Linked DNA regions of Homo sapiens: regions 2, 3, 4, 5 and 6 are each linked to region 1. The links are contacts of gene promoters, found by promoter capture Hi-C in human tissues and cell types (Jung and others, 2019). All regions are on one chromosome and are shown on one strand. The core of a region is centred on a gene start or on the middle of the fragment in contact, and the rest is flanking DNA. Distances in the headings are between cores, read along the strand shown. Region 1 holds the start of P2RX7 (purinergic receptor P2X 7). Region 2 has its middle 20 kb from the start of POP5. Region 3 holds the start of COX6A1 (cytochrome c oxidase subunit 6A1). Region 4 has its middle 4.5 kb from the start of SIRT4. Region 5 has its middle 16 kb from the start of COX6A1. Region 6 overlaps RNF10 (ring finger protein 10).

The links. The method cuts DNA at HindIII sites, captures the fragments that hold promoters and counts their contacts. A contact is called where the count stands out against the background at its distance.
Region 2: a contact is called between a fragment that was not itself captured here and the fragment with the promoter of P2RX7 in region 1, in 1 of the 25 tissues and cell types used here (thymus).
Region 3: a contact is called between the fragment with the promoter of COX6A1 here and the fragment with the promoter of P2RX7 in region 1, in 2 of the 25 tissues and cell types used here (aorta and mesenchymal stem cells).
Region 4: a contact is called between a fragment that was not itself captured here and the fragment with the promoter of P2RX7 in region 1, in 1 of the 25 tissues and cell types used here (bladder).
Region 5: a fragment that was not itself captured here is called in contact with the fragment with the promoter of P2RX7 in region 1 in 2 of the 25 tissues and cell types used here (lymphoblastoid cells and spleen).
Region 6: a contact is called between a fragment that was not itself captured here and the fragment with the promoter of P2RX7 in region 1, in 2 of the 25 tissues and cell types used here (dorsolateral prefrontal cortex and hippocampus).

The regions. Positions count from the first base shown.
Region 1 is chr12:121,130,434-121,134,587 of GRCh38, reverse strand. P2RX7 (purinergic receptor P2X 7) reads right to left here and starts at 1,712. Exons shown (of 13, transcript NM_002562.6): 1 at 1,493-1,712. The coding sequence starts at 1,617. The region is part of intron 2 of LOC105370032 (a long non-coding RNA gene); the gene reads left to right. The HindIII fragment of the contact is 21,026 bases long and covers 1-4,154 here.
Region 2 is chr12:120,599,273-120,602,974 of GRCh38, reverse strand. No RefSeq gene overlaps it. Among named protein-coding and RNA genes, the nearest start is that of POP5, 20 kb to the right of the region's middle. The HindIII fragment of the contact is 9,311 bases long and covers 1-3,702 here.
Region 3 is chr12:120,436,863-120,440,704 of GRCh38, reverse strand. It overlaps COX6A1 (cytochrome c oxidase subunit 6A1), which reads right to left and starts at 2,592. Exons shown (of 3, transcript NM_004373.4): 1 at 2,476-2,592; 2 at 2,184-2,326; 3 at 1-251. The coding sequence starts at 2,578. The coding sequence ends at 168. It also overlaps the pseudogene LOC124903126. RefSeq lists enhancers at 1,898-2,419, 2,346-2,555. The HindIII fragment of the contact is 17,604 bases long and covers 1-3,842 here.
Region 4 is chr12:120,295,804-120,299,890 of GRCh38, reverse strand. It overlaps a transcript of SIRT4 not described here. Among named protein-coding and RNA genes, the nearest start is that of SIRT4, 4.5 kb to the left of the region's middle. The HindIII fragment of the contact is 8,404 bases long and covers 1-4,087 here.
Region 5 is chr12:120,419,539-120,423,692 of GRCh38, reverse strand. No RefSeq gene overlaps it. Among named protein-coding and RNA genes, the nearest start is that of COX6A1, 16 kb to the left of the region's middle. The HindIII fragment of the contact is 4,053 bases long and covers 1-3,899 here.
Region 6 is chr12:120,538,082-120,542,018 of GRCh38, reverse strand. All of the region lies in intron 1 of RNF10 (ring finger protein 10), which reads right to left. Among named protein-coding and RNA genes, the nearest start is that of RNF10, 5.7 kb to the right of the region's middle. The HindIII fragment of the contact is 6,302 bases long and covers 1-3,937 here.

The DNA of each region.
Region 1 (4,154 bases), core at 463-2,962:
AAACCTCATCTCTACTAAAAATACAAAAATTAGTGAGGAGTGGTGACGCACACCTGTAATCCCAGCTACTCATGAGGCTGAGGCAGGAGAATCGCTTGAACCGGGGAGGTGGAGGTTGCAGTGAGCCAAGATTGCGCCACTGCACTCCAGCCTGGGCAACAGAGCAAGACTTCATCTCAAAGACAAAAACAAAATGACAACAACAAAACCCAAAAAGACAGACGATAACAAGCGTTGGTGAGGATGTGGAGAAATTGGATCCCTCATACTCTGCTGATAGGAATGTAAAAAACTGCAGCTGCTGTGAAATTCAGCTCCACATTCCCCCCAAAGGTGAAACATAGTTAACATATGACCTAGCAATTTTTACTCTTAGGTACATATTCGAGAGAAAGGAGAATATATATCCACATAAAACCTTGTACACAAATGTTCATGTGGCATTATTCATGATAGCCAAAAAAGAGAAACAACCCCAATGTCCATCAATGGATGAATGGATAGAAAAAAGTGGTCTATCCATGCAATGGAGTACTACTCAGCCGTAAAAAGGAATGAAGTATCAGCCGGGTGCAATGGCTCACGCCTGTAATCCTGACACTTTGGGAGGCCGAGGCAGGCAGATCACTTGAGTCCAGGAGTTTGAGACCAGCCTGGACAAAATAGTGAGACCCCGTCTCTTTAAAAAAAAAAATTGAATGAAGTATCAACACATGCTACAACATGGATGAGCATTGAAAACACGCTAAGTGCCACAAAGGACCACATATTATGTGATTCCATTTATATGAAATGTCCAGAATCGGCAAATCCATAGAGGCAGAAAGGAAATTGATGGGTGGGAAGGAGGAGGAACAGTGTTGGAAATGATGGTGAAGGAGTGTGGGATTCCTTTTGAGTCGATTAAAATATTCTAAAATTGATTGTGGGGATGGTTGCACAACTCTGGGAATAATCTGAAAATCATTAAATGGTACCCTTTAAATGGGTCAATTGTATGGTGTATAAATTATATCTCAGTAAGTTTCTTTTAGAAGAAACAAAAACCAAAAAGCAGGGCCTTCCTGACGTTGGTGAGGACCTAAAGTTATAACACATTTTCAAGCCTGGTCCTATTCCTCCCAAGCATGGTGACTCAGATGCCAGCATGATCACCAGGCGTGCCCTGAGATCCTCGCCTCCTCCCTGGGGATCCAGGGTGTTGCCCTGCGCTTTCCTACCTTCCCCAGGCACGCCCTGCCCTGCGCGCCCTGGCGGGCCTGAAGTAGAGCAGAAAGGAATCCCGCTTGTCCTGTGGCTTCTCTCTGCTGCAGCCTGGCACCGTTTCCTCTTGCCTGCTGCTGCTTCCTCCCTCCCGCCCAGCTGGCTGTGAGAGCACGTCTCAGATTCGAAAACCATGTGAGATTCAGAATGTGCACCTGAAGCTGCCCGCTGGGGCTTTCTGTGCTGTCGGCCACTGCAGAGATCTGGGTCCTCCCCAGATCCCACTTACCAAACGTAGGAAAAGATGATCACGTGGAAGAACCACTTAATGGTGCCATAATTCATGCTCTGGATCCGAGTGACTTTGTTCGTCTCATACTGGAAAACATCACTGCAGCTGCAGCAGGCCGGCATGGTGACAGCCTCCCTCCCTGCGCGGAGCTGGACCAGAGCTCTACTCTTCCTGACAGGGCCACAGCAAGCCCCCTCCCAGTAACTGCAAAATGAAACGTACTGGTTTTTAGCAGGAGTCTTTAACTTCAAGCTCCTCCAATGACTGCAGAGTTGGGGCGGGCCCTGGCAGTGGCCCCACATGTGGCTGTGATAAACAAGAAGCGCCAAGTCCTACGGGCCTGGCTGGCAGATGACCTCACCCCAGCTGGCCTCCCCCAGATGCCTACACAAAGATGGTGTTCAGAGGATGGGCATTTTTAGAATTCTCCCTTTTCCCCCCTTTCCTTTCACTTTTTTGGTCTCATGTCTCTTGGGAGAAAGGGGCAGCCTTGCAAATGTCACAAGACTGGGAGCTTCCATTATGCCTCAGAAAAGGACTGAGATCTTTCCATTGCCTGAAGCCCCACTCAGAGATTGATTCATTCATTTCTACAACCCTTTATTCAGCCCCTGATGTATAGGAGCTCTGGGTAAATGAAGATCTCCCCCTCTTCTTCCACCGCCCCTTATAATACTCTGGTCTGCAGTTGGTGGGGGAAATCAGATTTGCAGGGGTAGGGGTGGTGGGGGTGGAGGGGCTTTATTTTTCTGCCAGATCTTTCATGCTTGACCCTCTGAGTTACTCTCCACCCTCCTCTGCACCCCGGCAGGTCGATCTATGACCTAGACCAATCAGCCAAAGATCACCAGGGACACAGTGGCAGTCCAACAAAGTTAGGTTTGTTGACCTATTCAGTGAGGGACACCACCCACCAGAAGAGCTACGCACATCACCAAACAAAGGAAAACAGCAATTTATTATAGGATTCCGAGGAAAGTGGAGTTGAGATAAAATCTAAATGAAGTCATGTTTTGATGGACTCAAAGCAAAACAGGTTTGTACAAAGCAGTCAACTTCAGTCTGGATTGCAAAGAGGACCCAGGGCCCTGTTTCCTAGGAAGCAACATAGCTAAGATACATGTCAAATGTGTCCAGAAAATCTTTATCTGAAGCTCTGCTCCTGAGTTGTAAATTGAGGCTGCTTCTCTGTGTCAAGATGACTTAAATCTTCCAGGCAAAATTGGAATATTTCAGTCTTAGTCATGTAATTTCAAACAGCAAAGTTTCTGAAGGTCTCTGATTTTAAAGGACAATGTTTCAGCAGTCACTCAAAGATGCAGGGTTGTATTATCACTTTACAGCTACAGAGAATTATTGTTCCCTGTTATCTTTACAGCTGGCTTGATCCCTTTCTGTTATTCCAGCCTGCTAAGTGGCCGGGTAGATTTTCAGTTTTTCAGTCTAAACTAATTGTACTTTCTCACACATACAAACTGCATCAGGGTTCCCCTCACCTTCTGGCTTCCAGTTCAGGAGACTGGAGAGCAGTGAGGATGGACGTGACTCCCTGGCCCTGCCCTTCTCAGTTGCATATAGGCAGGGCTTCTGGGCACCACTCCCTCCTTTAGTCCTGGGAGTGGTAAGGGCTCCCCACTCTTACCAGCCCCAGGAAGCTCACTATCTCCTATTGCTTTTTCTTAACTCTGTCCACACCTTTGTAAATGGTTCCATCATTAGTTACCCCACTTGAGTATGCCATTGCTTTCCTGCCGGGAATCTGAGTGATACGGTCATCTTCATCTGTAAAAAGAGGAGATTCACAGGTAAAGCCTGATGCTTAGAACATAGGCTCTAGGGGACTAATGGCCTGGCTTCCGATCCTGGCTTCACATCTTACCAGCTCTGTGACCCTGGACAGCTCTGTTTATGCTATTCATTCACTCATTCCCAAGAGCACCAGGAATAGTAGATATGGCAGTGAACAGGCAGACAAGTCAAATGTCCATCAGCTGATGGATGGATACACAAAAGCACGAAAGCCCATACAAGGGAATATTATTCAGCCATAAAAAGGAATGAAACACTGACCCATGCTCCAACATGGATGAACCTTGAAAACACTACGCTTAAGTGAAAGAGGCCAGACACAAAAGGATACATCTTTTACGACTCCATTTATAGGAAATGTCCAGAATAGGCAAATCACTTCAGTGTTGCTCTTGCTACCACTCAAAGACATCTATTTTCTTGTCTTTCTTTCTTTCTCTTTTCTTTCTTTCTTTTTTTTTTTTTTTTTTTTTTTTTGTTTTTTTGAGATGGAGTCTCCCCCTGTTGCCCAGGCTGTAGTGCAGTGGCAAGACTTTGGGTCACTGCAACCCCTGCCTCCTGGGTTCAAGCGATTCTTGTGCCTCAGCCTCATGAGTATCTGCAATTACAGCCATGCGCACGCTCAGCTGATTTTTGTGTTTTTAGTAGAGATGGGGTTTCACCATGTTGGCTAGGTTGGTCTCGAACTCCTGGTCACAAGCGATCTGCCCGCCTTAGCCTACCAAAGTGTTGGGATTACAGGCGTGAGCCACTACACCCGGCCTGTTTGTTGTCTTTCTGCTGCACTCTTGCACTGGTCCCTCATGCTCTCCCCTCTCCACTCCTTCAGCCCTTGTCCGCTATTTCATCA
Region 2 (3,702 bases), core at 491-2,990, 530 kb after region 1:
TATTATTGTTTAAAGCCATTAAGTTTTGGGGTAATTTGTTACACAGGAGTCAATAAACTAATATGAACACTACCAGTATAATAGCTAATATTTATTAAGTATATATTCTATCACTTACTATTCCTACCCCCATTACTACTAGCAGGGAAGAGGTCCGATATCCTCCATTTGCCCATCTGGGGCACTTCCCCAGCCTGCCGTGTGCCCAAGGAGACTCAGCTGTTCAGACTCAACAGCCTTCCATATCCCCTGGCTTCTAATCTGGTTTGGGCAAGGAGGAGCCCCCGGGAGGAGACTGAAGGGAGAAGGTGGAGTGACTCAGGGTATTTATGCAACTGCTTCCTCCTGAAGGGCACCTCAGGCTGGTTAACAGAAGGTCACAGCTTCTCTTTTTTTTTTCTTTCTTTTTTTTTTTTTTTTTTAGACAGAGTCTTGCTCTGTCACCCAGGCTGGAGGGCAGTGGCGCAACCTTGGCTCATTGCAACCTCCACCTCCTAGGTTCAAGCGATTCTCCTGCCTCAGCCTCCTGAATAGCTGGGACTACAGGCACGTGCCACCACGCCTGGCTAATTTTGTATTTTCAGTAGAGACAGGGTTTCACCATGTTGGCCAGGCTGGTCTCGAACTCCTGATGTCGAGTGATCCACCTACCTCGGCCTCCCAGATTACAGGCATGAGCCACCTCATCTGGCCAACAGCTTCTCTTAAAGTGACCCTCTCCACATAACTTTCTGGCTAGTGGGAACTGCTCCTGCCATGCCTAAGGAGGTAACAGCCCTCCCATTGTAACCAGTCTCGGCACTGCACTGTCTCCTGCGATTTCTGTACACCCTGTCCACATCTAAATGATCCCTTTAGTCAGCCTTCCTTAAGTCACCCAGTTTGAGCTTGCCATCTGTTTCCCACTGGGACTGATGGCCACCCCAATTTAGGAGCCCCTATTTGGCCAGGCGTGGTGGCTCATGCCTGTAATCCCAGCACTTTTGAGAGGCTGAAGCAGGAGGATCCCTTGAGCCCAGGGGTTTGAGACCAGCCTGGGCAATAGAGCGAGACCTCATCTCTTTTTTTTTTTTTTTTTTTTTTTGAGACGGAGTTTCGTTCTTGTTGCCCAGGCTGGAGTGCAATGGCGCGATCTCAGCTCACTGCAACCTCCGCCTCCTGGGTTCAAGCAATTCTCCTGCCTCAGCCTCCCAAGTAGCTGGGATTACAGGCATGCGCCACCACGCCCAGCTAATTTTGTATTTTTTAGTAGCAACGGGGTTTCTCCATGTTGGTCAGGCTGGTCTCAAACTCCCGACCTCAAGTGATCCGCCCGCCTCGGCCTCCCAAAGTGCTGGGATTACAGGCGTGAGCCACCGCGCCCGGCCTTGAGACCTCATCTCTACAAAACATAAACAAAATTAGTTGGGCGTGGTGGCAACTGCCTGTAGTCTCATCTACTCTGGAGGCTGAAGTAAGAGGATCGATGGAGCCCAGGAGGTAGAGGCTGCAGTGAGCTAACAAAAAAAAAAAAAGGAGAACCCCTACTTTAGAGAAGGAAATGGAAATTCAAAGAGGAGCAAATGGGAAACCAACAGGGGCCACCTGGGGGTGTGCTCAGCAGCCAATAGGCACTAGTGGATGCTTGATAAATATCTGAATTAATGAGTGAATGAATGACTTGCTGTCACTGGGAAGGACCCACCTGCCCTTACCATAGGTGCTGGAACAGCAGGTCAGTATCTGAGCTACTTCAGCCCGACACTGGTGACCAGTTCCCTCGCCCAGCCCAGAGTCTTAAGCTTCAGGAAGTTTTGCATTGGAAGGATTAACACACAGCCCGGGACACCCAGGAAGCAGCCCCCAAGCTCAGTGAGAGACTCAAGAGTTATTTTTGAAAAGCAAGCAAGGCCTGCAGGCGGCCCTGGCAGAGGCAGAACGCAGAGCTGGAAAGAAGAGCCAGGAGCAGAGAGAGAACAGACAGCTACCACAGAACCCACGCCCCACGCCTGTGACGTGGGCCCCACGCACGGCGACATAACATGGTGGCAGAGGCGGGGAGGCGTCCTGTGACCCCTTGGGAATTTTATTTTAATTGTGGTAAAATATACATCACATAAAATGCATCCTTGGGAGTTTTTACTGCTCCCGCCCCAGGCTGAATGACATTGAGGACTGGGTTCCCACAGGAACAGGGAGTGGGAACACCAGCCAAACCCATTTGCATCCAAATGGTGTGTGAGCTTTTGCTCAAGTCTGGGAAAATCCTGGAACTGGAGGGAGGGTCATTGCTCTGAGGCAAAGTTGGGGTCTGAGGATTAGGACACAGGTGACAAAATTAACATTAGCGGTGCATGGTGGCACATGCCTATAGTCCCAGCTACTCGGGAGGCTGAGGCAGGAGAATCGCTTGAACCTGGGGGGTGGCAGTTGCAGTGAGCAGAGATCGCGCCACTGCACTCCAGCCTGAGCAACAGAGCGAGACTCCGTCTCAAAAAATAAAAAATTAAAATGGTAATTAAAAAAAGAAACAGTTAACAGCCTCTATCCCTGCAAAATAGTGGGGTGGCAGGAGTGGCTGTGGGGTCCGGGAGGAGGGGAGCAGGTGCTGGCCCTCGAGGTAGGGCGGGGAACTGCGGGCACGGAAAGCAGCAGCCGAGCAGCAGAATGCGGCTAATGAGCCGTGCAGGTGAAGGGAGAGGTGTCTGCAACGGGGTGGAGGTCACAGGCAGCCAGAGGGAGCCATCAAGGCCCCAAAATAACTCCTGCTTCTGCAGGAGAAACTGGAACTAATCAAGGTGGGAATAATCCGAAAATCCCTCAGAGAGGGACTGCTAAGAGGCCTTGTGTTTCCAAGCAGGGATTAGAGGGGAAGAAAATAAACAAAAGATGGAGTTTGTCCTGGAAAACGGTGCCAACATGAAAGCAAGTTCTTCCTAGGGCCTTGGTCAGAGGGCCACCAGTAGCTAATATCCATTGAGCGCCTACTATTGTATGCCTGATGCATTCATATGGCTAAGCATGTGAGCTCTGAAGTCGGCCTGCCTGGATTGGAATTCCTGCTCTACTTCCTGCTAGCTGTGTGACCTCCGAAGAGTTATTTCCCCATTCTGAGCCTCAGTTTCCTTATCTGGAAAATGGGGATAAAATTCATACCTGCCCCGCAGGGTAGTTGAGGATAAGTGCTCGATACATGTGAACTTTTATTATAATAGAAATATTTCCAGGGGCTCATTTCCTGGGATTGCCGGTGGCTCATACCTGTAATCCCGGCACTTTGGGAGGCCGAGGTGAGTGGATCACCTGAGATCAGGAGTTGGAGACCAGCCTGGCCAACATGGCAAAACCCCATCTCTACTAAAAATACAAAAATCAGCCAGGTGTGGTCTCAGGTGCCGGTAGTCCCAGCTACTTGGGAGGCTGAGACATAAGAATTGCTTGTACCCGGGAGACGGAGGTTGCAGTGAGCTGAGATTCACTGTGACTCCAGCCTGGGTGACAGAGACTGTCTCAAGAAACAAAACAAAACAAAACAAAACAAATCTTTCCAGCAATGCTGGAGGAAGAGGGTTAGGTTTTGTCTCCTCTTTCTGCAGGGTAGTGAACCAAGGCTCAGAGAGCCCAAGGTCACATGGCTAATAAGTGAAAGTGTCAGGATGGTGACTCATGTGAGTCTAAGTCAGGAGCATGTGAATTCACTAGCCCGGGCCACCCTGCTCGCTC
Region 3 (3,842 bases), core at 1,343-3,842, 690 kb after region 1:
TCTCCTGCCACAAGCAAAGGGATGGGAGACCAGTATACCAGTCATCATTTGATACAAGTAAAGAAGGTGAGCTTAAGGTCCCATATACTTTTTCTGGTCCATGTGCAGAGTAACGGTCCAAACCAGTGCTGTGGTCCCTGGTGCCCGGGTAGTGGTCCAGATTCTCTTTATTCATCTTCGTAGCCAGTTGGAAGTGGATTCACATGAGGGTTATGGAATAGAGTATGGTTACCATCTCCCCAGGGAAACGGCTGTGGAGTGAAGATGTCAGTTAGATAATTCCAGAAAATAATTTAGAAAGAACACCGTCATGAACTGCTTATAACGGGGTGACAGATCATATATAAAAACAAAATGGAAATTAGTCCTTTATCTACTGGTGTAGTTCAACCTTCCCATTATTTAAGGAGCTCTTATAACTACCAGGGGAGCCCTTAAAGTTATCCTGGCTACAGGACAGTTTTAATTCCAGAAACAAATATGGATGGCAGAAAATGCAAGCTCAAGTTAGTTACTCATCATCCTCTCCCTAGTAACTAGTATATCCAGTGCTGTGTTTATGAAAGTGTAATCCTCAAATCACCTATATCAAAATGGTGGCAGTATTAGGGGAGGGAGATGCTTAATTAAATGCAGATTTCTGGCACCATCCCAGACTTCAAACAATATCTGGGCTGGGAAACTGCAGCCCACCCTGAATTATCTTGCCTATTACCTTTGAAAAGCATTACTTTAGGGCAACGGTCTCCAACCCAGGGTGATTTTGCCCCTTCAGGGCACACTGGGTAGTATCGGGAGACACTGTGATGGGGGCGGGGGAGGGGGAAGCGGGAGTGGGGTTGCGCAGGTACTACTGCCACCTAGTGGGTACAGGCCAAGGATATGGCTAAACATTTCACAATGCACAAGATAGCCCCCCAACAAGAATTACCCAGCCCCAAATGTCAACAGTGCTGAGGCTGAGAAACCTTTACTGTTTGGCTTCTAATTGCATTGTACAAGGATGGGAGTGCCGCTCAAAGACTCAACAAATTCAAGAGTCTAGGTTAAGTTTCTACAAGGCCAGTCCTATATGGGCTAGGTGATGTAATAATAATAATAATAATAATAACTTTTTTCATCACTTCTCGGCCTTTTGGCTAAGATCAAGTATATTATTACTATTTTTTTTTGAGACGGAGTTTCACTCCTGTTGCCCAGGCTGCAGTGCAATGGCTGGATCTTGGCTCACTGCAACCTCCTCCTCCTGGGTTCAACCTCCTAGATTCTCCCACCGCAGCCTCCCGAGTAGCTGGGATTACAGGCGCCCGCCACCACGCCCGGCTACTTTTTGTACTTTTAGTAGAGATAGTGTTTCGCCATGTTGACGAGGCTGGTCTTGAACTCCTGACCTCCGGCGATCCACCCACCTTGGCCTCCCAAAGTGCTGGGATTACAGGCGTGAGCCACCGCGCATGGCCAGTATTGAAGAATCAGAATAAGCCCTTGTTAAAGATACAGCAAACAACAGAGGACACAACATTGTAATATATCTACATCAACAACCAATGATAAAACAGTCGAGAAAAGGTATTGGTGGGGAATAGAGAAAGCTGTCAGTCTCTTCATTATGCAACTAGTAGCTGCCAGATGCCCATGTTTTGTTGTTGCTGTTTTGTTTTGTTTTGAGACCAGAGTCTCGCTCTGTTGCCCAGGCCGGAGTGCAGTGGCACGATCTCAGCTCCCTGCAAACTCCGCCTCCTAGGTTCAAGGGATTCTCCTGCTTCAGCCTCCCATGTAGCTGCTGGGTTCGCTTACGCGAACCACCTTCAGACTTTGCCACTCTAATTGGATTTCCCAAACCTCCAGGCTTTACACAACGGACACCTGTTTCAGAACTGTCTCAGAAGTAAAAAAAAAAAAAAAAAAAAAAAAAAGAACTGTCTCAGAAGGCAGGAGGTAGGATGAATCGGAGAAAAGGGAAACTGAAGAGCACTTATTGTATGACCTTGAAGAAGAGAATTGAGACGTAATCCCAAGTGTCAGCTGTCCATCCACAAAATGGAAGAAAATACATTTTCTGTTTGTGAGGATAAACAAGCTGTACACGCCTGGCACCCATGCCTTCAGAGAATGAAGAACTTGCACTAAGGCACACATAACGAAAAGAGAACGGACGCTTGAAGAGATGTACAAGGGCGTACCTTGGTCCTGATGCGGAGATGGGGGTAGGCGATGAACTCGGGTCTCTCGTGCTCTCCGTGGTGCGACTTCAGGTACACATTCAGCATGCTGACTGCCACCCCGGGGAGCGCGACGAAGAAGGTGAGAGTCTTCCACATGCGAGCTGCGGAGAAGCCACAAACGTTCAGCGCCGGTATGGGGCGGGCCCGGGTCTCACTTTCCCTCCCGCAAGGCCTCGGGCCAAGGTCACAGTCCCTCCCTGTCTCGCCCGAGTGGGGCTGAGGCTCGACCCGTCGACCCCGGCCCCAGTACCTGAGCCCTCTTCGCCATGGGCGCCACTCGACATAGGCCGCCCCAGCTGTGGGCGGGACCGACCCAGCAGCCGAGAAACCGAGGACACACCAACTACCGCCATTTTTGATCTGGACTGCCGCAGCGCCGGAAGCGGAAGTGGAAAATTGGCTCTGGGGGCGGTACTACAACCTCCAAAGGAAGTTACTATTGGGCGCCGCCCTCCCACTGGCATTAACCTGAGCACTATCATCCGGGACGACGGAGTCCTTGTCAAAATCCTCGGCATCTCGGGCAAGAGAGAGCATGCGCTCTGCACCTCCCTTCAGGCTTTACCGTTTCCTTCGTGCGCATGCGTGTGCCCTCCGGTCTCCCTACCGTCCCCACCTGGGCGAGGCGGAAGCTCAAGAGAGGTTTGTGCAGGGTGCCCTGGTACCTGGAATCGCTCCCTTCGTTGGAGTCCATGGACGGGCATCTGGAGGTTCTGATCCCAGACCGCCCTATCTAAAATTCCGTTCCCCTTCCTCGCCATCCTCCGACTGCGTTTTCTCATAGCACATAACATTGCACCTTCGTCGTTATATTATTATTTTGTCTGTCTCCCCCACTAGAATATAAAGTCTGTGATACCAAGAGTTTGGCACTGCAGCATTCTCAGAATAATCTGGGAATGGTGTAATTTGGAATCATACCTGGCACATACCAGATACTTGATATAAATTTGCTGAATGAATGGATGAATGAATGAATAGCAACAGAAAGTATAAAGAGCACTGAAATTGGTGCCAGCAGACCTGGATCCTAATCCTGACTCAACAGTCTCATCTTTTTTTTTTTTTTTTTTTTTTTTTTTTTTGAGACGGAGTTTGACTCTTGTTGCTTAGGCTGGAGTGCAGCGGTGCAATCTTGGCTCACTGCAACCTCTGCATCCCAGGTTCAAGCAGTTCTACTGCCTCAGCCTCCTGAATAGCTGGGATTACAGGCACGCACCACCATGCCTGGCTAATTTTTTTTTTTGTACTTTGGTAGAGACAGGGTTTCACCATATTGGCCAGGATGGTCTCCATCTCCTGACCTTGTGATCCGCCTTCCTCGGCCTCCCAAAGTGCTGGGATTACAGGCGTGAGCCACTGTGCCCGGCCTTTTTTTTTTTTTTTTTTTTTTTTTTCAATAGGCCCCTTTGAGAATGTAATGAGGACCAGCGTGGTGGCTCATGGCTGTAATCCCAACACTTTGAGAGGCCGAGGCGGACAGATTGCTTGAGCTTGAGAGTTTGAGACCAGCCTGGGCAACAAAGCTTTTTTCTTTATTAGAAAAAAAAAGAATCTAATGAAAGCTTTGAACCCTTTCCTCTAAAGACACACCTATGTGTAAACACACAGTATAGC
Region 4 (4,087 bases), core at 1,557-4,056, 840 kb after region 1:
ATGTCTCTTCCAAGTCACTATATTCATTAAAAGATAAATGACTCTGGTCATTGCCTTTTCCTGCACAAGATAATGTCTGATGGGGTTAGTGATGATACCTCTGTAATCCATAACCAGATATACTCTTGCACCCAAACTTTGATATGATTGTGCTTTAATGTAACTTTGAAGCAAGTTTAATGTGATTTTGCAGGCGCCGTACACTCACCACTTGTATATGAGTGGCTGAAATTCTGTGTTGGACCAGTCTGATGGAACTGCTCCCACACTATAGCCCTCGGTCTGTAATCCTCAGTAAGACTTGTAAGTAAAACTAACTTTAATTTTTTTTTTTTTTTTTTGAGAGAGTCTAGCTCTGTTGCCCAGGCTGGAGTGCAGTGGCGCGATCTTCACTCACTGAAGCCTCTGCCTTCCCGGCTGAAGTGATTCTGCTGCCTCGGCCTCCGGAGTAGCTAGGATTACAGGCGCTCGCCACTGCGCCCGGCTAATTTTTGTATTTTTAGTAGAGATGGGGTTTCGTCATGTTGGCCAGGCTGGTTTTGAACTCGTGACCTCAGGTGACCCACCTGCCTCAGTCTCCTAAAATGCTAGGATTACAGGAGTGAGCCACTGCACCCCGCCACTTTTATTATTATTATTATTGTATTTATTTATTTATTTATTTATTTTTGAGACGGAGTCTCGCTCTGTCGCCCAGGCTGGAGTGTAGTGGAGAGATCTCGGCCCACTACAAGCTCCGCCTCCCGGGTTCACGCGATTCTCCTGCCTCAGCCTCCGGACTACAGGCGCCCGCCACCACACCCGGCTAATTTTTTGTATTTTTTTTTTAGTAGAGACGGGGTTTCACCGTGTTAGCCAGGATGGTCTCTATCTCTTGACCTCGTGATCCGCCCGCCTCAGCCTCCCAAAGTACTGGGATTACAGGCGTGAGCCACCGCGCCCGGCTATTTATTTATTTATTTATTTATTTATTTATTTATTTTTTGAGACGGAATATTGCTCTGTGCCCAGGCTGGAGTGCAGTGGCACGATCTCAGATCACTGCAACCTCCGCCTCCCGGGTTCAAGTGATTCTCCTGCCTCAGCCTCCCGAGTAGCTGGGATTACGGGTGCCCGCCACCATGCCCGGCTAATTTTTGTATTTTTAGTAGAGACGGGGTTTCACCATGCTTGTCAGCATGGTCTCGAACTCCTGACCTCGCGATCCGCCCGCCTCAGCCTCCCAAAGTGCTGGAATTACAGGCATGAGCCACTGCGCCCTGCCACTTTAATTATTTAAAAGCTTATTTTTTTATTTTGGGGACATGGTCTCACTCTTTCACCCAGGCGGGAGTTCAGAGGCACGATCACTGCGCACTACAGCCTCAACCTCTTGGACTCAAACCATCCTCCCACCTCAGCCTCCTGAGTAGCTGGGACTACAGGTGGGCCACCAAGCCCAGCTAATTTTTGTATTTTTTTGTAGAGACGGGGTTTCACCATGTTGCCCAGGCTGGTCTCGAACTCCTGGGCTCTAGGCTTTCCAAAGTGTTGTGATTACGGGCGTGAGCTACTGCGCCTGGCCGATTCTTTTTAACTTAGTACACAGGGAGTAGTAGCTCCAGCAACAGCGAAAGTCAGTAGCTGTAGGATCTACTAGGCGGGGAAACTCATATGACAGCCCCCTCCTTTTTTTTTTTTTTTTTTTTTTTTTTGAGATGGAGTTTCACTCTTGTTGACCAGGCTGGAGTGCAATGGCGCCATCTTGGCTCACCGCAACCTCCGCCTCCCGGGTTCAAGTGATTCTCCTGCCTCAGCCTCCCCAGTATCTGGGATTACAGGTGTGAGCCACTGCGCCCGGCCACCCCCTTTTTTTTTCAAGGCTGCAGTGAGCCATGATCCTGTGACTGCACTCCAGCCACTGACAGCCCTTTCTGCATTAGTTAACCTGACCACATCTGCTGAAAGAAAGCACCAGAAGCTAGACTGAAATTTTCGTTGTCAAAAAAATTATAATCCCCCCCAAAATTTAAAAATTATAATCCAGCACATTTTCTGCACACATTTTCTGGGTATTTGATCATAACTTTTAAAAATGTGAGAACAGTGACATTCTCCTTCCCCATTCACCAATTTTACTATGAAAAAGTTCAAACCTAGGTTATTTTTTCAGTTCTCCAAGTGGAATGATCATCACTAATAGAGATTGGTTGGGAATTCTATTGTGCTTCTAGGCCCCCAAAAATCTCATGCTCTGAGGAAAAGTTAGCTGAGTTTTCAATTTTTCTCATAGTGCTGGAAAATCATCCCTGGACGGTGAAGTCATCCAAGTCTTTTTTGTTTTGTTTTGTTTTTTCTTTCTTTCTTTCTTTCTTTTTTAATTTTTGTATGCTTTGTTTCTATTTCTTTTTTTTTTTGTCATCCAAGTCAGCTGGTGAAACACACAATTTCACTTGATAGCTACTGAGAGAGTGTAATGGGCCACCCATTCTAGAATTCTCAAGGGCTAGGAAGTTCCTTTGATACCCTCATGGGATTAGGATTAGGGCTTTAGTCTTTTTCTCTCTCTCTTTTTTTTTTTTTTTTTTTTTTTTTGATTACAGGCGTGAGCCACCACACCAAGCCCCATTATTTATTTATTTTATTTTATGTATGTATGTATGTATGTATGTATGTATTTATTTATTTTGAGACGGAGTCTCGCTCTATCGCCCAGGCTGGAGTGCAGTGGCGCAATCTAGGCTCACTGCAACCTCCGCCTACCGGGTTCAAGTGATTCTCCTATGTCAGCCTCCCAAGTAGCTGGGATTATAGGCGCCCGCCACCATGCCCAGCTAATTTTTGTATTTTTAGTAGAGACGAGGTTTCACCATCTTGGCCAGGCTGGTCTTGAACTCCTGACCTTGTGATCCACCCGCCTCGGCCTCCCAAAGTGCTGGGATTACAGGCGTGAGCCACCGTGCCTGGCCTAGTGTTTTTCTCACAACTCCACCCCATCCAGAATTAATGACTAAATCCTTGACTGGATGATCAAAGTAAAAGAATCTAAATTCACCACATTGCTAGTCTTTTCTTTTTATCCAGGCTGTGAATTAAATAAGAAATCTGCTGCAGTGGCTCATGCCTGTAATCCCTCCCCTTGGGGAGGCCGAGGCGGGCGGATCACTTGAGCCCAGGAGCTGGAGACCAGCATGGGCAACATGGTGAAACCCTGTATCTACAAAAAATACAGAAAAATTAGCTGGGCATGGTGGTGTGTGCCTGTAGTCCCAGCTACCTGGGAGGCTGAGGTGGGAAGATCGCTTGAGCCCAGGAGATTTAGGCTGCACTGAGCCGTGATTGCACCCCTGCGCTCCAACCTAAGCGACTGAGAACATGTCTCAAAAAAAAAAAAACAAAAAAAAAAACACAAAACAAGTTAGAAATAATCACATAACACATCAGCATCAAACAGGCCTTTTAAAATGTCGTTTTTGACCATCCTGGCTAACACGGTGAAACCCCATCTCTACTAAAAATAGAAAAAATTAGCCGGCCGTGGTGGCGGGCGCCTGTAGTCCCAGCTACTCGGGAGGCTGAGGCAGGAGAATGGCGTGAACCCGGAAGGCGGAGCTCGCAGTGAGCCGAGATTGCGCCACTGCACTCCAGCCTGGGCGACAGAGCGAGACTCCGTCTCAAAAAAAAAAAATGTCATTTTTGTATATGGATGATGAGTACATGAATGTTCACTGAGGAATTCTTTGAACTTTTCGTGTTTACAATTTTTTATGATAAAATGTTGGGGGAAATGTTACTTTCTTTTTTTTTTTTTTTTTTTTTTTTTTTGAGACGGAGTCTCGCTTTGTCACCCAGGCTGGATTACAGTGGCATGATCTCAGCTCATGGCAACCTCTACCTCCCAGGTTCAAGCGATCCTCCTGCCTCAGCCCCCCTAGTAGCTGGGATTACAGGCAAGCGCCACCACGCCCCGTTAATTTTTGTATTTTGTATTTTTGTAATTTTGTATTTTTGTATTTTGTATTTACAGGGATGTCGCCATGTTACCAGGCTGATCTTGAACTCCTGACCTCAGGTGATCCACCTGCCTTGGCCTCCCAAAGCGTTGGGA
Region 5 (4,154 bases), core at 624-3,123, 710 kb after region 1:
CCTGTAATCCCAGCACTTTGGGTGGCTGACCTGAGGTCAGGAGCTCAAGACCAGCCTGGCCAACATAGTGAAACCCCCGTCTCTACTAAAAATAGAAAAGTTATCCAGGCATGTGGTGCGCACCTGTATTCCCAGCTACTTGGGAGGCTGAAGCAGAAGAATTGCTTGAATCCAGGGTACGGAGGTTGCAGTGAGCCGAGATCGCGCCACTGCACTCCAGCCTGGGCGACAGAGGGAGACTCCGTCAAAAAAAAAAAAAAAGAAAAAAGAAAGTAAGAAACGAAACAAAACAAAACAAAACGAAAAGAAGGAAGGAAAGAGAAGGGAAGGAAGGAAAGAAGAAGGAGAAGGAGAAGGGGAAGGGGAAGGGGAAGGGGAAGGGGAGGGAGGGAAGGAGGGAAGGAAGGAAGGAAGGAAGGAAGGAAGGAAGGAGGGAGGGAAGGAAGGAAGGAAGGAAGGGCGGGCCCCATGGAGGTCCTACTCTTCCGTAATGGAGGGGGGGTAGTGCTGGGGCCCTGGTGTCTGCAGTGCTAAATTGGAAACCATGGACTTCACTTTTAGGCTGTGCAACGTGAGCAAGTCATTTAGCCTCTCTAAGCCTCAGTTTTCTCATCTGCAAAATGGAGATGATAATAACCATGGCTGCGTCACAGGGCTGTAAAGAGATTACATGAGATAAAGCTTTTAGCACAGTGCCTGACCCAGAGCCAATATCCCAAAACTTCTGGATCCTATTATTATTACTATTATCATTATTACAACTATTAACACCAGGGCTGGAAGGGATCTCAGATCCTCAAATTCAGGGGCTCCCTACATAGGGTTCAGTGGATCACCCCCTCCCAAGGGATCCACAGTAGGGGTTCAGGAGGGTGGTCTGTGTGCATCTGGAAATAGAGTACAATATTGTGTCTGCTCATTTTCCTAAGGATGAGAAACTTAGCTGTCAACAAGTAAAAAATGGGGAAACTGAGTCCAGAGAGGGCGAAGGGGTCTTGCTCCAAGTTTCTCCCTTTATTCATTCATTTATTCATTCACTTTTTGTTTTTTTTTTGGTTGTTGTTGGTTTTTTTTTTTTTTTTTTTTTTTTTTGAGACAGAGTCTCGCTCTGTCTCCCAGGCTGGAGTGCAGTCGCGCGATCTCGGCTCACTGCAAGCTCCACCTCCTGGGTTCATGCCATTCTCCTGCCTCAACCTCGCGAGTAGCTGGGACTACAGGCACCCGCCACAATACCTGGCTAATTTTTTTTTGTATTTTTAGTAGAGACGGGGTTTCACCATGTTAACCAGGATGGTCTTGATCTCCTGACCTCGCGATCTGCCCACCTCAGCCTCCTAAAGTGCTAGGATTACAGGCGTGAGCCACCGTGTTGTTGTTGAGATGGAGTTTCGCTCTTGTTGCCCAGGCTGGAGTGCAATGGTGACATCTCAGCTCACTGCAACCTCTGCCTCCTGGATTCAAGCGATTGTCCTGCCTTAGCCTCCCGAGTAGCTGGGATTACAGGCATGCACCATCACGCCCTGCTAATTTTGTGTTTTTAGTAGAGACGGGGTTTCACTATCTTGGCCAGGCTGGTCTTGAACTCCTGACTTCGTGATCCACCCGCCTTGGCCTCCCAAAGTGCTGAGATTACAGGCGTGAGCCACTGTGCCTGGCCTCCTTCACTTCTTATTTCTTCAACCCAGCACCAAATCTTTCCCCAGGGCCTACATTGGCCCAGGATCACAGATGAACCAGACATGGTCAACTTCTTAGTCTCTACTCCTTACCTCCTTCCCCCGCCCCAGGGGATCTTCCTCCACAAAAGGTAGAGTTTAGTGTTTTCATTATAGTTCCTTTGTCAACACCATGCCCTGGGGCTAATTAGGCACTTCATCAAGTAACTCTAAATTCTTGCCCCAGTTGAATGCCTTACTTACCTCTACTTGGAACCTTCATTTCTCCTCTCTGAGCCTCAGTTTCCCAACCTATAGAAAGGGGGTAATAAAAGCCTTCTGCCTGGGGTTGCAAGAATTAAATAAAATAGAATTGAAAGTGCTTTATAAGCTGCAAAGTGTGGTGCCGATATTAGTATTATGGTCTGGAGAGAGAAGAAATCAAAATTGATAAATAATTGAGAACTGCACAATCTCCTCTCTCTCTCTCTCTCTCTTTTTTTTTTTTTTTCTGGACGGAGTCCCGCTCTGTTGCCCAGGCTGGAGTGCAGTGGCACGATCTTGGCTCACTGCTACCTCCGCCTCCTGGGTTCAAGCAATTCTCCTGTCTTAGCCTCTCAAGTAGCTGGGATTACAGGTGCCCGCCACCATAACCGGCTAATTTTTGTATTTTTTAGTAAAGACGGAGTTTCACCATGTTGGACAGGCTGGTCTTGAACTCCTGACTTTAGGTGATCCGCCCGCCTCAGCCTCCCAAAGTGCTGGGATTACAGGCATGAGTCACGGCTCCCAGTAGTTTATTTTTTGAGACAGAGTCTCACTGTGTTGCCCAGGCTGGAGAGCAGTGGCAGATCTTGGCTCACTGCAACCTCCGCCTCCCAGGTTCAAGCAATTCTCCTGTCTCAGCATCCCGAGTAGCTGGGATTACAGGCACCCGCCACCATGCCCGGCCAAGTTTTGTATTTTTAGTAGAGATGAGGTTTCACTATGTTGGCCAGGCTGGTCTCAAACTCCTGACCTCAGGTGATGCACCCACCTCAGCCTCCCAAAGTGCTGGGATTACAGGCAGGAACCACCGCACCTGGCTTCTTTTCTTTTTAATTAAGCTTTATTGGCCAGGCATGGTGGCTCATGCCTGTAATCCTAGCACTTTGGGAGGCCAAGGCAGGAGGATTGCTTGAGCCCGGGAGGTCAAGATCAGCCTGGGCAACATAGTGAGACCCACGTCTCTACAAAAAATACAAAAGTTAGCCAGGCATGGTGGTGCACACCTGTAGTCTCAGCTACTCGGAAGGTGGAGGCAGGAGGATCACAGGAGCTCAGGAGGTCAATGCTGAATAAGCCATGATTGCGTCACTGCACTCCAGCCTGGACAACAGAGTGAGACCCTGTCTTTTTTTTTTTTTTTTTTTTTTGAGACGGAGTCTCGCTCTGTTGCCGAGGCTTGAGTGCAGTGGCGCGATCTCGGCTCACTGCAAGCTCCGCCTTCCGGGTTCACACCATTCTCCTGCCTCAGCCTCCCGAGTAGCTGGGACTACAGGCGCCCGCCACCACGCCTGACTAATTTTGTTTTTGTATTTTTAGTAGAGATGGGGTTTCACCGTGTTAGCCAGGATGGTCTCCATCTCCTGACCTTGGGATCCGCCCACCTCAGTCTCCCAAAGTACTGGGATTACAGGCGTGAGCCACCATGCCCAGCCGAGACCCTGTCTTAATAAACAAACAAGCAAACAAAAACTTTATTTTTTGGAGCAGTTTTAGGTTCACAGCAATATTAAGCAGAAGGTACAGAGATTTCCTATATATCTCTCTCCTCTCCAGACACAGGCACAGCTTCCCCCATTATCAACGTACCCTACATGAGTGGTGTTTTGTTTGTTTGTTTGTTTTTGAGGCAGAGTTCTGCTCCTGTTGCCCAGGCTGGAGTGCAGTGGCGTGATCTCGGCTCACCGCAACCTCCGACTCCCGGGTTTAAGCGCTTCTCCTGCCTCAGCCTCACAAGTAGCTGGGACTACAGGCACGTGCCACCACACTCAGCTAATTTTTATATTTTTTCTTTTTTTGTTTTTTGAGACAGAGTTTCGCTCTTGTCTCCCAGGCTAGAGTGCAACGGTGCGATCTCAGCTCCCTGAAACCTCTGCCTCCCAGGTTCAAGCAATTCTCCTGCCTCAGCCTCCCGAGTAGCTGGGATTACAGGCACTTGAACTTCTGACCTCAGGTGATCCACCTGCCTCGACCTCCTAAAGTGCTGGGATTATACGCATGAGCCACCGCGCCCAGCCTGTATTTTTAGTAGAGACAGAGTTTCACCATTTTGGCCAGGATGGTCTCTATCTTCTGACCTCATGATCCGCCCTCCTTGGCCTCTCAGAGTGTTGGGATTACAGGCGTGAGCCACCGCACCCAGCTTGTATTTTTAGTAGAGACGGGGTTTCACCATTTTGGCCAGGATGGTCTCTATCTTCTGATGTCATGATGCGCCCGCCTCGGCCTCTCAAA
Region 6 (3,937 bases), core at 318-2,817, 590 kb after region 1:
GGCGGGAGCCTGTAGTCCCAGCTACTCAGGAGGCTGAGGCAGGAGAACGGTGTGAACCTGGGAGGCGGGGCTTGCAGTGAGCCAAGATTGCACCACTGCACTCCAGCCTGGGAGACACAGTGAGACTCCATCTCAAAAAAAAAAAGAAAAAGATAAACCAGGCACAGTGGTTCAAGAGTTCAAGGATCTCTTAAGCCAAGGAGTTCAAGGTTTCAGTCAGTTATGTTTGCACCACTGCATGCCAGCCTAAGTGACAGAGCGAGAGCTTGTCTCTAAAAAAAAAAAAGCCAGGCACGATGGCTCATGCTTGTAATCCCAGCACTTTGGGAGGCCAAGGCAGGTGGATCACGAAGTCAGGAGATAGAGACCATCCTGGCTAACATGGTGAAACCCCATCTCTACTAAAAATACAAAAAATTAGCCAGGCTTGGTGGCGGGCGCCTGTAGTCCCAGCTGCTCGGGAGGCTGAGGCAGGAGAATGGCGTGAACCCGGGAGGCGGGGCTAGCAGTGAGCGGAGATCGTGCCACTGCATTCCAGTCTGGGCGACAGAGTGAGACTCCGTCTCAAAAAAAAAAAAAAAGGAAAACTCAGGGGATGCAGAACCCCAGCTAACTCAGCCACATTCTCTTGCTTTGCTTTCCTTAACTCCATTTCACATCACCTCAAGCAAAGGAGATTCTACGAGGATAGGTATATAAAGAAAACACATATCCTCCAACCTCATTATCCAAGACTGTTTCAGATGATCCTGGACCCTACCTGTTTGACCCTAACTGCTGCTTTCAAGATGCACCTCACGGTTTGCATAGATTTAGGTAAAGCCAGATTCTACATGGCAAGGGCTTATTAAGAAAGTAAAATGGCCAGACACGGTGGCTCATGCCTATAATCCCAATGCTTTGGGAGGCCGAGGCGGGCGGATCACCTGAGGTCGGGAGTTCGAGACCAGCCTGACCAACATGGAGAAACCCCGTCTCTACTAAAAATACAAAAAATTAGCTGGGCATGGTGGCGCATGCCTGTAATCCCAGCTACTCCGGGGGCTGAGGCAGGAGAATAGCTTGAACCCGGGAGGTGGAGGTTGCGGCAAGGCCGAGACTGCACCACTACACTCCAGCCTGGGCAACAAGAGCAAAACTCTGTCTCAAAAAAAAAAAAAAAAAGAAAGTAAACTGGCACTCAGCAAGAAGGCTGTCTTCATTTCTTCACTTATTACCACACTGGCAAGGAAACAGTTTCATAATGCTTACAGAAATGCTCACTGATAAGACAGTAAACTGCTCATTTCCAAAACACATAACAACTGACCACATCATGATTAGTGATTTTAGTTGCCAAAATCAACTCGTTTCTCGTCTTCCAGTTACCTAAGGGTATGAAGACAGATATGTCAAGTGAGAGACTGGCTCTTATCTCTAGACCCAGGCAAAAGGCAGCTAAAGGTTGAAGGTACCATCAGGCCTGGGACCCAGAGATAAAATTCAGAGTATTATTTTTGAAATGTTTTGTGGACAACTTGCCAGGATATACATGGGAAAAACTCGAGGGTAGAACAGGAGTGATAAGATGATCCACTTTAGATTTTGGAAAACAAAAAATATCAAGTTCCTGGGAGAAGGAACTATGGGTGAAGTTTTAAATCTCAGAGTGGTGGTTCTCAATCCTGGCTGCACACCAGAATCACTTGCACAGACTTTTTAAATTATGAATGCCCAGGACCCACGGGTTCAATCTAGGCTTAAAGAATCAGAAAAAGGCCAGGCACAGTGGCTTATGCCTGTAACCCCAGCACTTTGGGAGGCTAAGGTGGGAGGATCATTTGAAGCCAGGAATTTGAGACCAGCCTGGGCAACATGGTGAGACCCCCATCTCTACAAAAAAAAAAAAGATAATAAATTCCTAGGAAGGGGCCCCACACACCCCTATTTTTTTTTTTTTTAAGTTCCTCATGAGGTCAGGAGTTTGAGACCAGCCTGGCCAACATGGCGAAACCCATCTCTACTAAAAATACAAAAATTAGGCCGGTGTGGTGGTGGACACCTGCAATCCAGCTACTCAGGAGGCTGAGGCAGAAGAATTGCTTAAACCGGGAAGGCAGAGGTTAAAGTGAGCTGAGATCGCGCCACTGAACTCCAGCCTGGGTGACAGAGCAAGACTGTCTTGAGGGAAAAAAAAAAGTTCCTGAGGAGATTCTGATGCACAGCCACCACTGAGAACAACTGCCAAGAACTACTGTCAAGACACATTCCAAAATGGACAAGACCACTAAACTCAGGCTCCAGAGTCGACAAATAAATGACTTAAAAACTTAACCCAGCTTCTCAGTTGTTCCACATTTCCCTAATGGAAAGGTCTCCACCAAGTAGCAGTAGGTATATCTCAGCCTCCCCCCATTACCAAATTAAGGGCCACAAGTTTTTCACAGTTAAATTACTTGGCATCTTCATTTCTAGCTCTAGTTCTAACAGGTGGCTCGGCCTAGAGGTCAGAATACCAGTCAGCAAGTTTCTGCTGCTGATTCATGCTGTAATCACAAGCAAGTTGCTTACCCATCATCCAGAGTAGTTGACAAGCACCTCCAGAGGGGCAACATATGGCCTTACTACAGAATCAACTGACAACAAATTGAATCCAGCTGAAATTAGTAATTCTGAATGAAAGGAAGAGAGAGGTGGTATCAGGAATGATGCACATGCCAGTAAGTTATCTGCTTGCTAAGTGTGATTATACAAAGCTTATTGAAAAATACCGCCTAGGACTTCATAAAAATTTACTTGGACAAATCACTCTTAACACTGCTAAGCCTCTATTTTCTTTTCTGTGAAACAGGACTAATATTCTACCATACTTCCTCATAGAATCATGAGGATTAAGAAAGAAAACTTCTGTAAAATGCCTACCATAGTGGCTGACACACAGTTTTACTATGATTTGAAAGCCTATCATTAATAAATCCAAAGCGTTCCTGTCAAGAGCACCCACTAGACTTCCAATGAAGCCATATAAACCAAGGAATCCAGCCAACGGGCCCTGAAATTCTTTTAATTTCTCTAAGTGGTTTTACTGAAGGCTTCAAATCACCTCAATTTTCAAAGCCATTAAAATCTCCAGGTCCATTTACAGCTCAGAGGCATTCTTCAAGGCAGATTACCACTAGTAACCTGGTTTCTGGTACCAGAATAACAGGAAGAATGCCAGGGCAGTGCTTCATACCACCAACCTCAAAATAACTGCCTCATAATACCTGACCTTCCCTTAACCTCCCTGGCAGTTCTATCGGCCCAGGGGGATGGGACAAGAGCCTGGTTCCTGGCCAGAGTCCACTGCCTGCCCATAAACGGCCTACCTTCTCTCTTGCCTCTCTTTCTTTGCTCCCTCTAAATGACTTTCCCCACTTTCTAACCCACCTTCTCTCCTCTGAGCTATATTCACAGGATATTTACTGCTGCATGTTCTCAGAAATACCTATTAACACTACTGGAATGAAGCTGTAGGAATATAATCAAGAAAAGGAATGTTATATAAATGTTCAGGCAATTAGCCCAGGCAAAGAAACTGTGGTATGCGACTCTAGCCGGAAAGATCAAGAAAATCCTGGTAGCCAAATTTACATATTTCCTGTGTACAAATGAAGGGCAAATTTAAGCCAGCCACTGGAACAAAATCTCAAAGAAATTAATCATGTAGCTAGGAAGCAAATGGCCATTAATGACAGTTTACAGAATAGAAACCAAAGGGCTTTCTTCCACGAGGTAGAAAAGGGGGAGAAAAAAAGTGACTTAAATATTTGAATACTGAAAACTCTTGCTCTTTTCACCTTGACAAAAGATAAACTATCTTTTCACCTTACGCTTGTTTTCCCCTCAACTCAGTACTCTGTAATTCAAGAGGTCCTTTCAATGATTCCCAGCAGAATCAAGTATATGAAGTGTTCAG